2 separate regions of the Homo sapiens genome follow, and region 2 is linked to region 1. The links are contacts of gene promoters, found by promoter capture Hi-C in blood cells and fetal thymus (Javierre and others, 2016). All regions are on one chromosome and are shown on one strand. Each heading gives the region's core, a stretch centred on a gene start or on the middle of the fragment in contact. The rest is flanking DNA. Distances are from core to core; before and after follow the strand shown.

Evidence for each region. The method cuts DNA at HindIII sites, captures the fragments that hold promoters and counts their contacts. A CHiCAGO score of 5 or more calls a contact.
Region 2: a contact is called between a fragment that was not itself captured here and the fragment with the promoter of TM6SF1 in region 1, in 2 of 17 cell types (M0 macrophages and monocytes). The highest score is 6.1, in M0 macrophages.

The regions. Positions count from the first base shown.
Region 1 is chr15:83,104,712-83,110,336 of GRCh38, reverse strand. TM6SF1 (transmembrane 6 superfamily member 1) reads right to left here and starts at 2,692. Exons shown (of 10, transcript NM_023003.5): 1 at 2,565-2,692. The coding sequence starts at 2,656. RefSeq lists silencers at 2,635-2,754, 2,785-3,064. The HindIII fragment of the contact is 11,695 bases long and covers 1-5,625 here.
Region 2 is chr15:82,547,539-82,553,163 of GRCh38, reverse strand. It overlaps CPEB1 (cytoplasmic polyadenylation element binding protein 1), which reads left to right. Exons shown (of 13, transcript NM_001365242.1): 9 at 548-684; 10 at 3,506-3,704. Among named protein-coding and RNA genes, the nearest start is that of RPS17, 9.9 kb to the right of the region's middle. The HindIII fragment of the contact is 1,847 bases long and covers 1,888-3,734 here.

The sequences.
Region 1 (5,625 bases), core at 1,443-3,942:
TAAGGGCTGCGACTAACCCCAGGATGAGAAAGTTGCTAGTCTTGGGGGGTGGGAAGGGCTGCTGATGCCCTTCTATGAACAGACACCTACTGAGAGGGGACATGCAAGGATGAGTGTGAGCAGTGTGTCTCTCTCAGTGAGAGAGGGAGACAGAACACGCTCAATCCTTTCCTGACCTCTCAATCTAATTTTCTTTTTCTGGTTTTCAGAGTTGCATAAAAGGTTTGGTGGGAAGGAAACTCGATTCAACAAAGTCAAACATACCTGAGTGCCTACGATGCACACGGCGCTGGCCTGGGCAGGACAGTACAGAGGGGTGAGCTATAGCCGGGGCAGGTAAGTTCTTACCACAGGAAAGTAACTCTCGGGAGAAAGGTGCAAACAAGGGACTGAGGGAGCTCAAAGGAGAGAGAGGGAGGGTCTGCAGAAGGTAGAAGTGGCCATAAAGTCCAGGTGCGGCTTCAACAGTCTGCGATAGGAGGAAGGCAGCATCCCTGTCAGGGAGCAGCAGGAGTCCGGGCTAGAGGCTGGAGAGGAGGAGGAATGGTCAAGGAGCAAAGGCAGGCTGGTGCGGCAGGAGCACTAGTGCGTGGGCTGGGACTGGGGGGCCGAGGCCGAGAAACACGCAGCGGGGCTGGGCAGCGAGACTTGCACCGGAGCCTTTGCCACAGTCCAGGTCAGAAAGGGCCAGTGCCAGGGAGAACTGAAAGGAGGGAACAGACACTAGAGCCCCAGGACTTATGGGGAAGCAGACAGTAGGAGGAAGGGAGTGGAGAAAGAAGAGAGGAATCAAAGGCCACGGGGGTTTTAACCTGCAAGAGGACAGGAAGAATGGCTGACACTAATTATTCAAAATGCTGTAGTGCTTGCCAGTGCGCTCCATCATGCACAGCAATACATAGTTCAGTCTGTATTCAGTAAATGCCATCACCATCTTCCCAGTGGCTGAGGCCAAAACCTAGGGCTCATCCTCAAATCCTCTGCTGCCATGCAACCCTCTTCAGTAAGCCCCATCTGTTCACCTTCCAAAATACCTACTACGCCCATCCAATTCCTTCCCCTGCACTGCTCCATTTTCCTGCCCGACAGGCTCCATTCCCAGATCTTCCCATAGCTCAAGTGTTACCTCCTCCTAGAAGCCTTCCCTGGCCACCAGCCCCCTCCCCAGTCACCCTATTTTATTATCTTCATAGCATGTCACTATCGATGTATTAATGTTTGTTGATGTCTATCTCATTACCTGCCTCCACAGCCTCTTCTGGCTTGTTCATAGCTATGTCACCAACACTTGGAACAGTGCCAAACACACAGTAGGCACTCAGTATATCTTCACTGAACTACCCGTAATGCCATTTTTTGGAGCACAGGGTCCCCCATGCACTATATTGACAGGCATGTAATATTCGGTGGCCCAGAGCAGCTGCCTCCAGGGGATGCCTCCAGAGACTGGGCCAGACCAAGGGTAGACACTGCTGGTGCCTGGTGAGCACTCAGTGTGGGTGCTGCCTGTATCAGGCGGCCAGGCAGCTGGAGAGGAGGAAGTTACCACCCTATGTACAGACACTCCACGGCCTGACCAGCTGAAGGGGGTTTGCAGCCTACAGACTGATGCAATTTCCTTAGCACCAACAGCTGAGAGACATAGCAGGTTACTTCCTCCTCCCTCCAGACAGCAACCAACATCAGCAGGAACAGAGGCTGGCGCCTGTCCCAACACCCGGCGACCCTCAGGCCTTCAGCTGCCGGCTGCAGGTTAGTCCGTGATCCCTGCAGTGGAGTGGGAGGCAGGGCTTCGAACCCAAGCCCTGTCCCCCTCCATCAGCCCCACCCATTTCCTTCACATTGAAGTGTTCTGCCTCTGCTGCCTGTCCCCATCCTACCCCAGCGCAGGCACTGGGAAGCACTTCTCCATTCACAACGCCCCTTCACAAAGAGGTCTCGGTGGAACCTTACAATAGGACGCACACAAAGTCCACTTGACCGGAAAACCGAGGCCAGACCACACCGTCAGTGCCAAACACCGTCAGGCCAGACACCGTCAGTGCCAAAGCCAGGCCTAGAACCCACGTCTCTGCCTGTTGGTTCCGGGCTATTTCTGCTAGTCATTCACAACAGTTTCTAAAATTAATAAGAAATGATAAGTATGCGAAAGTCCATACATGGAAACGTTCCCGTGAGATGCAAAAAGAACAAGGCACAAACGAGCTGACACGGCCAGGTTCGTAGTGTCCGTGTTTGTTCCGCTCCCCACCGGCCCCTGGGCCCCTCCAGGGCAGGGGCATGGCCGTATTGACGCCTGTGACCCCGGGCACCTGGCGCGGTGCTGGCACCAACATCCCGAAATGCGCCAGCCTGGGCACCTCAGGGCCCGGCTCCAAGACCCGGCCCGTGCGACCCCTGGGGCGCCCCCCTAGTCTGGCCAGGCGCGGGGAGCCCCTGCGGCCACGAACCTCTGTCCCGCGGCGGACGGTCCCAGCCCCCTCGGAAAAGTTGCGAGGCTCCCGTCGCGGCGAGCCAACTCCCGCCGCCCCTCGGCGCGACCCCCGCCGCGCCGGCTCACTCACTCATGCTGGGCCGCCAGGTGGTTGAAGACATAGGTGACCGGGATGGCCGAGAGGGACAGCACGAAGACCCCGGTGGCCGCAGAGGCACTCATCGCAGCCGCCGCGCCGCTCGCCCTTCACCGCATCCCGCTGGGCGCCCCGCCCCAGCTTCCGGCGGCGCCCGCGCCCCCTTGGCGCTTGCCCTTCGAGGCGCCTCAGCCGCGCCCCCCGCGTGGCGCCCTCAGCGGCGTCCCCTCAGCGGTGTCTCCTCCGCGCGCCCTCCCAGCCCGCAGCCGTCCCCCGCGCCTGGCCCCGTCGCCCCAAGTGCGCAGGGCCGCGGTGCAGTCCCGGGAGGCGTCCTTGCAGTGCTCCTGCCAGGGGCGCCACGGCTCAGCGGCAAGCGCCCGGCGGCGCCGAGGGGCGGCGACACCCCCGCGCAGGGACAGGTGCCCCTGGCGGCGCGCGCTCCGAGGGAGGGCCCGGGGCACGGCCGGGAACCGGTCATCGAAGAGCTGGAGAGGCGCGGGGCTGAGCTGCGGTCCGGGAAAGGTGGAACCAGATCCGAGGGTGTCAGAGGAGGAAGGGCCCGCGGGATCGTCTATGGGGGAGCCCACGGCCCAGAAGTGGGAAAGGACAAAATGCCCCTGAAACCTCGGAACCTCTCCGCTCCAGTAGCCATCGGCGGGCTGCTGCACGGAGCCGGCATCCGGTTTTTAAACCTGGCTCTCCAGTCACCAGCTGTTGACTTTGGTCAAATTACTTAACCTCTCTGTCTTTTCCCTTATCTGGGAAATGGGGATAACACACTTCATAGTGTGACTGTGGGGTTAACTGAGTTCATACCTACGAAGCGCGTTATCCTGTGCTGCTCACTACACCACCTCCTGCGATTCTTTTTTTTTTTTTTTCTTTAATTGAAATGGACATAAATGCTGAGACTCTAAGAGACTAGAGCGCCATTCATTGCTATTCCAGGAAGCATTCCTGGAGGCCAGGTGCCCACCAGCCAGCCTGCATTGGGCCCTGCAGGGTACAAAGACTGGAAGATAAGCCTCTTCCTCTGAATGATAGATGCCTACGGGTATGGAAAATATTGTGTGTCAAGTGTTGTGGCTATCTGAAGGGCAGTGAGTTCCAGGAGAACAGCTCAAGCAACTGAGGGAGGTACCGGCATGTACTTACTGTCTTTACAACTTCCAGGGAATTTAAGAGACCATTTATGTGTTTTTGCTGTTGCCATTTGAGGGGTTTATTTTATTTATTTATTTATTTATTTATTTATTATTTTTATTTTTTTTTTTTTTTGAGACAGAGTCTCGCTCTGTCACCCAGGCTGGAGTGCAGTGGTGCAATCTTGGCTCACTGCAAGCTCCACCTCCCGGGGTTCACGCCATTCTGCCTCAGCCTCCAGAGTAGCTGGGACTACAGGTGCCCGCCACCGCGCCGGGCTAATTTTTTGTATTTTTAGTAGAGACGGGGTTTCACCGTGGTCTTGATCTCCTGACCTCGTGATCCGCCCGCCTCGGCCTCCCAAAGTGCTGGGATTACAGGCGTGAGCCACCGCGCCCAGCCTATTTTTATTTTTATTTTTTTAAGACAGGGTCTCACTCTGCAAACCAGGCTAGAGGCAGTGGAGAGATGAGGGCTCACTGCAGTCCCCACTTTCCCACGCCAAGCCATCCTCCCAGCTTAGCCTCCTTAGCTCCTGGGACTACAGTCTCGCACCACTTCTTTGTAGAGGCAGGGTCTCACTATGTTGCCCAAGCTGGTCTCAAACTCCTGGGCTCAAGTGATCCTCCCTCCTCGGCCTCCCAAAGTGCTGGGATTACAGGTGTGAGCCACCGCACCTAGCCTCTAAAAGACCATTTGGCTCATTTTAGACATGAGGAAAATGAGCTACGAGGAGGTATGGCCTGCTCCAGGGCCACTCCACTTTTCAAATGCCAGTTCTCCTAATCCTTCATCCTAGTTCTTCTTGAAGGCTTCTCCAGCTCTGAGTGCATAACGTTTAAGCCTTGGCCCACACTGTGACATATCCAAAGTTTCTCCAAGAGGTGTCCTCACCTGTCACCTGCACATCACCCTCTTCCACCCCTAACCTTCACCACTCTCCTTAAACTCCTACTTCCTCCCTGACAAGAGACACTTCCTCCTATACCTCTGAGCTCCCAGCCAGGCTCCCAAGCCAGCCCATCCCTTCCATCAACACCCAACCTTGTTGCATCAGTCTCAGAGCTGCTCCCTCAGAGCCCACAAGGGACCCAAGTGACATGGCAAAGTTTCAAGGTATTGTGATATACATATTGGGAATTACATGATTTTTTTGTTGACAACAGTTTCTCTTTTTTTTTTTTTTTTTTTTTTTTTTTTTTTTTTTTTTTTGAGATGGAGTCTCGCTCTGTCACCCAGGCTGGAGTGCAGTGGCGGGATCTCGGCTCACTGCAAGCTCCGCCTCCCGGGTTCACGCCATTCTCCTGCCTCAGCCTCCCAAGTAGCTGGGACTACAGGCGCCCGCCACTACGCCCGGCTAATTTTTTGTATTTTTAGTAGAGACGGGGTTTCACCGTTTTAGCCGGGATGGTCTCGATCTCCTGACCTCGTGATCCGCCCGCCTCGGCCTCCCAAAGTGCTGGGATTACAGGCGTGAGCCACCGCGCCCGGCCAGTTTCTCTCTTAATGCTGAAAATATGAGTGGTCAGAATGCTTGTAGTTGGGAAGAGTTTTTCGCAGGAACCTTCCCTGGCTTTTGGGATAAGTGAACCCCTCTGGCTGCCCTGGATCCTTCCGCTCAACCTAGACACAGGCTCAAGTAGCTTCCAATTTAGAAATCTGCTCCCTGAACCTGAGTGTCCTGGGTTTTTTTTGTTTGTTTGTTTTTTGTTTGTTTGTTTGTTTTTGAGACAAAGTCTCGCTCTTTCACTCAGGCTGGAGTGAAGTGGCACAATCTCAGCTCACTGCAACCTCTGCCCTGCCCCCCGCCGGGTTCAAGCAATTCTGCCTCAGCCTCCCAAGGAACTAGGATTACAGGTGCCCGCCACCATACCCGGCTAATTTTTGTATTTTTAGTATAGATGGGGTTTCA
Region 2 (5,625 bases), core at 1,562-4,061, 560 kb after region 1:
CGTTTGAAAAGCTTTCCCTTGCCTGCCTGTCCTGCCCAGTTACGTTGTTGCCTGACCTAATTCTGAAGTCCCTTTGGAGTTGGCAGGAATGAGGACCAAGCATCTGATTCCTCACTGGTCTGAAATGAGATCCCTTCCCTGTAGAAAGGAGCAGGTGCTATTTTCACCCTGCCCCATCTTCATTGAACTGAACTAATGGTTTAAGTAGGTGTTTAAAGCAATACCTGCCATCTTTCCTGCCACCAGGAAAGCCTGGCTCTGCTGACCTGAACATGCTCTGTGTTCTTGCATAGAGAGCTGTGGTAATGGTGGGATCCTCTGTCTCAGCTTGCCAGTCCTTTCCTTCACCAGGGTGGGAGGGAGGCCCACAACCCAGGGCATCTGCATAGCAAATGCTTCCACTCAACACGACTTTTCAGGAGTAAAACAAAAATGTATCTTATACACAAGACCTTCTTTCTTGGAAGAAACGCCCTGCTGCAAAGCCAAGGCTGAGGAGTGGCCACCTAAGGGATATTAATGCGATTTTTCCTCTCATTGGGAATAGGGTATGTGTATCTGGTCTTCGAACTAGAGAAGTCTGTCCGATCCTTGCTTCAGGCTTGCTCTCATGACCCGCTGAGCCCAGATGGCCTGAGTGAATATTATTTCAAGATGTCCAGCCGAAGGATGCGCTGCAAGGAGGTGAGTTAGCGTGATGTCCTTTCTGGATCGAGGGTCTTGGAATATTGAGGCACTGGATTTTCTTGTGGTAGGTGGATAGGCAGGCTGCAGGCAAGGAGTATTCCTGCTGAGGCAAGAAGGCTCTTCTTGTCCCACAATAAAATAGCAGTATCCTCTCAATTACATTAAAAAAAAAAAAAAGCAACCTTTGGGACTTAATGGGGTGTGTGCATGCACACATGCGCATGCCTGCCCATGGTAATCAAACTGTCTGCCCGTCTTTATTCTGCTCTTCTTTCTTGTAGCCAACACTTTGGTTTCAAACCTCTTGTCTTAGAAATGAAATTGAGAACAGCAAACTTCTCTACTTGGACTTAACTGATAAACCTACAGCTGTTTTTCCCTGGTCCTGCCCTTCCTGTGCCTTGTGACCTCCCAGTCTGTGGGGGTGAATTCCTCTTTAGCCCACACCCACCTGTGGGTCACTTCTTCATTCTTATTCAGGGCTTTATTTAGTTTTGTGGGTTTTCCCCATAAGATTCTCTCTTCCTACGCTTTTTCTAATATCAGCCTTATGTATCCTTGGCAGCATGGGTCTCTAACGAGTTTATCTCACCTGGGGATCTCATTGCACATTCTTGGGCCTTATCCCAGACTTACTGAATCACTCTGGGTGGAATTTAGGAATCTCCAACTGAATAAAGATCCCCAGGTGGTTCTAGTGGGTAGTGTTTGAGAACCACTTGTCAAAGCAAGTTTTGAGCTCAGGAATCAGTGCGGTGGTAAAATCGGATTTGAGAGCACACAACTTTTGTGACATTGGACTAGATATTTAATATCTCTGAAACTTTGTTTCCTCTTCTCTTCTATAAGATGGGAAACTAAAATGCCTATTTTAGTAAAAAAGATCAGTGGTTGCCAGGGGTTTAGCAGGAAGGGATGAAGAGACATAGCACAGAGGATTTTTAGGGCAGTGAAACTATTCTGTATATGGTGGATACATGTCATTATACTTTGGTCCAAACCCATAGAAGGTAAAAGAAACACCAGGAGTGAACTCTGATGCAAACCATGGACTTTCGGTGGGGATGATGGGTCAGTATAAAAAAATGTTCCACTCTCATGCGGGATCCTGATAGTGGGGAAGTCACGCAAGTGTGGGGGCAGAGAGTATTTGGAGAATCCCTGTACTTTCTGCTCAGATTTACTGTAAACCTTAAAGCTTCTCTAAAAAAATCTATAGGGTAAGAGGAGAAATGCCTATTTTATTGGGATGGTCACATTAGATTTAAAATAAATCCATGTAACAAAGCTGGCTCTTGTTCTGTGTTAGAGAGAGGGCAGGCTCATCCTCTGGCTGCCCACAGTGACCCACAGCTTCCCTACCTTCTCTGCTTCTTTATTCTCTGGAGCTTGTGTAGTCTTCCCACCTTAGTATGTTCTAGGACTTAATTAACATGCTCCTTTTTCCTCCCCTCCTGCTTTCACAACCAGAGATGGCCATATGCATATCACAGAGCCCTTCCCCTTCCTCCTCAGTGCCCCTGTAGACACCATCCTGTCTCCCATTCCCTCCCATCACCTTACAGGGATTTAATCTTTCTTTGATTCACTGGCTATAGGCTGATGCAGTTCTCCTTCCTCTCTACTTTTCTTTTTCCTTTGTGTTCCTCTCCCCGCCAGCACCAACATAGCCAATATAGCCAATCTTTGACTCCCTTCTTCTTTTCTAGTTCAGATAAATGACTCACTTTGTGGCTTCTCTCACCTTTAGACCCAGATTCACCTTTCTAGCCTCATGTCCTACCTGAGCCTCACCTTCCTGTGGGATCCTTCTTCGGGATGTCCTGTAATCCCAAACTCTTTTGTGGGCAAAATTGGCTTTTTCATCTTCCAGTGAAATTGGCTCCCCTCTTGTAACTTCTGCCAGGTCCTCTCATCCCAAGACCGTGTAGGCCCAGCACCTACCAGGCCTGATTCTTCCTTGCTTGCCCATCCTGCTTATGCTGTCTGAGTACTGCAGACTCTTCTGTTGAAGAATCTCTTTGGTCTTGGCCTGTTCTCTGCTCGTTGCCACCAGCCTTGTCCAAGTCTTAATCACCTGTCCTTTGAAACTACTGTTTTTGCCTCCTTGCTGGTTTCTGCCTCAGATCTCTTCCTGCTTCAAGACATATTTTTAGATCTTCACTTCATTCTGGACTCCTCCACCTGCTCTACAAGGTTTTGTTCCAGGTTCAGGAGATTCAGAGGCAAAGGACATGGTCAGCCCCAGCCCTTTAAGACTCCAGGGATCTTGTATGTGACTTTCTACCCAACCTCTCGCCAGTCATTTCCACTGCTCTGGCACAAACCCTCTGAAGGCTAGGTTGGGCCAGTAACCATCTCATACAAATATCGTAAGCACTCCCACCCCTCTGTCCTTCAGGATCCTAGCCTTTAATTTCTCTGTGAGTCCTTCCTTTCTTGAGGACTTCAGATTATGCCCTTTTCATCAGTGTCCACAGCCCTTTGTTGGAACTACACAGTTGGAGGTTGAAATAGAATGCTGGGCTCCTGGGTTTGGCCATGTGGTACTTTTTTGCTTACTCTCCAGCATGAGTGAGTACTGTGTCCACTTCTACCATTCTGGACACATGGACTCAGTAAAATTCAACTCCAGTTGGGGTGGAGTCAGGGTGGTTTATTGGACGCCTGTGTGCCTGAGATTGGGCAACAGCACCTTTTCACCCCTGTAAGGGCGTTAGCTTAGCTTCAGTATCTCCAGAGCACGTACCTTGCCGTGCAAGCACCTCTCTCTCTGTGGCTCTCTGCCAGGGCTGATACACCTTTGGGTGGTTTTCAGGTGCAGGTGATCCCCTGGGTATTAGCCGACAGTAACTTTGTCCGGAGCCCATCTCAGAGGCTTGACCCCAGCAGGACGGTGTTTGTCGGTGCTCTGCATGGAATGCTAAATGCTGAGGCCCTGGCAGCCATCTTGAACGACCTATTTGGTGGAGTGGTGTATGCCGGGATTGACACAGATAAGCACAAGTATCCCATTGGTAAGTGTCCCACTTCTGTGTGCGAAAGCTTGGTTGGCCCCTGGGAGTAGACCAAGATTGTGATACTTCCCCATGGGAGTGAGGAGAGAGGCCTGACCCAGGTCTGCAGATCAGCATATACCAGCACCATAATATCTTTTTCTAGACAAGTCACGAGTACTGGCCCTTCTGTATCTAGCCCTCTACCCACCATCTCCCACGCAGTGGGAGAAAAAGCTATTGGAGACTACAGGAGGTGATAAGAAGTGAGAGTGAGGTAGGAACTTTGTTGGAAGCTCAGAGTTCACAGCGAAACCAGTTTGGAACAGACAACAGGTACTATTTCATGAAAAGGCTGCAATTCTCTGAACTTGCCTGGAGTTTTTTATTAAAAGTTCTTGAAAAGCTCTGGCATTGTCTAAGGTCAGAGACCAGGTCAGGCTGGAGGAGGACTTTCTGAGTGAGTCAGGCAACAGAGTGTGGCCTGTGCTTTCCTAACTCAGAAGTCTGTGGGCCTAACCACTAGGTTTTGATCAGCTCCTCTGAGAAAGGAGGTCAATTCGCCAGTCCTGGCAAAATGTCAATGATGAGGTATGGAGGTGGAGCAGAGCCTGACCTCTGTGATTAACATGTGGCTAACCCACCTCCCCAAATGCTTAGTCTTCACACCCACACTGAATCTGGTCAGGAAGGAGCACCATGTACTCACCAATACTGTGCAGCAGATTGAGAACAGGGACTTCAGAAGCCCCAGGAGCGGAGGAGGAACTTGGCAGGATGGGGCTTCTTCCAGCTCTCTTAATAGGTCTCCAGAGTGCCTAAGGGCTAGGAGAGGTTCAGTTCAACTGCTGGGCTTACCCTTCAGACAAGTGTTCTATCTGCATCTTGGCTTCCACTCTGAATCCTTTAACCTTAACCTATGCTCTACCTGCACTGAAGGAGTCCCTTATCTTTCCTTCCCATCTTGATCTGCAAATTCTTCCCCCATTCCTGAATGGTTCACGCTAACATGATCTCCACTGTCAAATATGGTACGAATATGGTAGCTACCAGCTAAATGTGGCCCCATTGAGTTTTGGAAACACAGCTGTTGTCACATTTGGAAATAATATTATTAACATATAGGGTTAAATAAAATTTTTTTTTTGAGATGGAGTCTCACTCTGTTGCCGTGCTGGAGTGCAGTGGTGCTATCTCAGCTCACTGCAACCTCTGCCTCCTGGGTTCAAGTGATTCTCCTGCCTCAGCCTCCTGAGTAGCTGGGACTACAGGTGTGCGCCACCACGCTCAGCTAATTTTTGTATTTTTAGTAGAGACGGGGTTTCACCATGTTAGCCAGGATGGTCTCCATCTCTTGACCTCATGATCCGCCCACCTTGGCCTCCCAAAGCACTGGGTTTACAGGTGTGAGCCACCGTGCCCGGCCAATAAAATATATTATTAAAATTAATGTCACCACTGTTTTAAAATTTCAGTGTGACTACTAGAAAATTTAAAGTTACATAAGGGCTGACCATGATGGCTTATACCTATAATCCTGGCACTTTGGGAGGCCGAGGTGGGGCAGATCGTTTGAGTCCAGGAGTTCAAGACCAGCCTGGACAATATGGTGAAACCCTGTCTCTACAAAAAAATACAAAAATTAGCCAGGCATGGTGGCTCATGCTTGTAGTCCCAGCTACTTGGGAGGCTGAGGCAGGAGATTGTTTGAGCCTGGGATGCAGAGGTTGCAGTGAGCTGAGATCACGCCATTACACTCCAGCCTGAGTGACAGAGGGAGACCCTGTCTCAAAAAATAAATAAAGTTACATAGTAGCTCACATTATATTTCTGTCGGACAGCACTAGTATCGTAAAGGGTTTCCTGCATTTTAAAAGAGTAGCATTAGGGCAGGCTCGGTGGCTCACGCCTGTAATCCCAGCACTTTGGGAGGCTGAGGCGG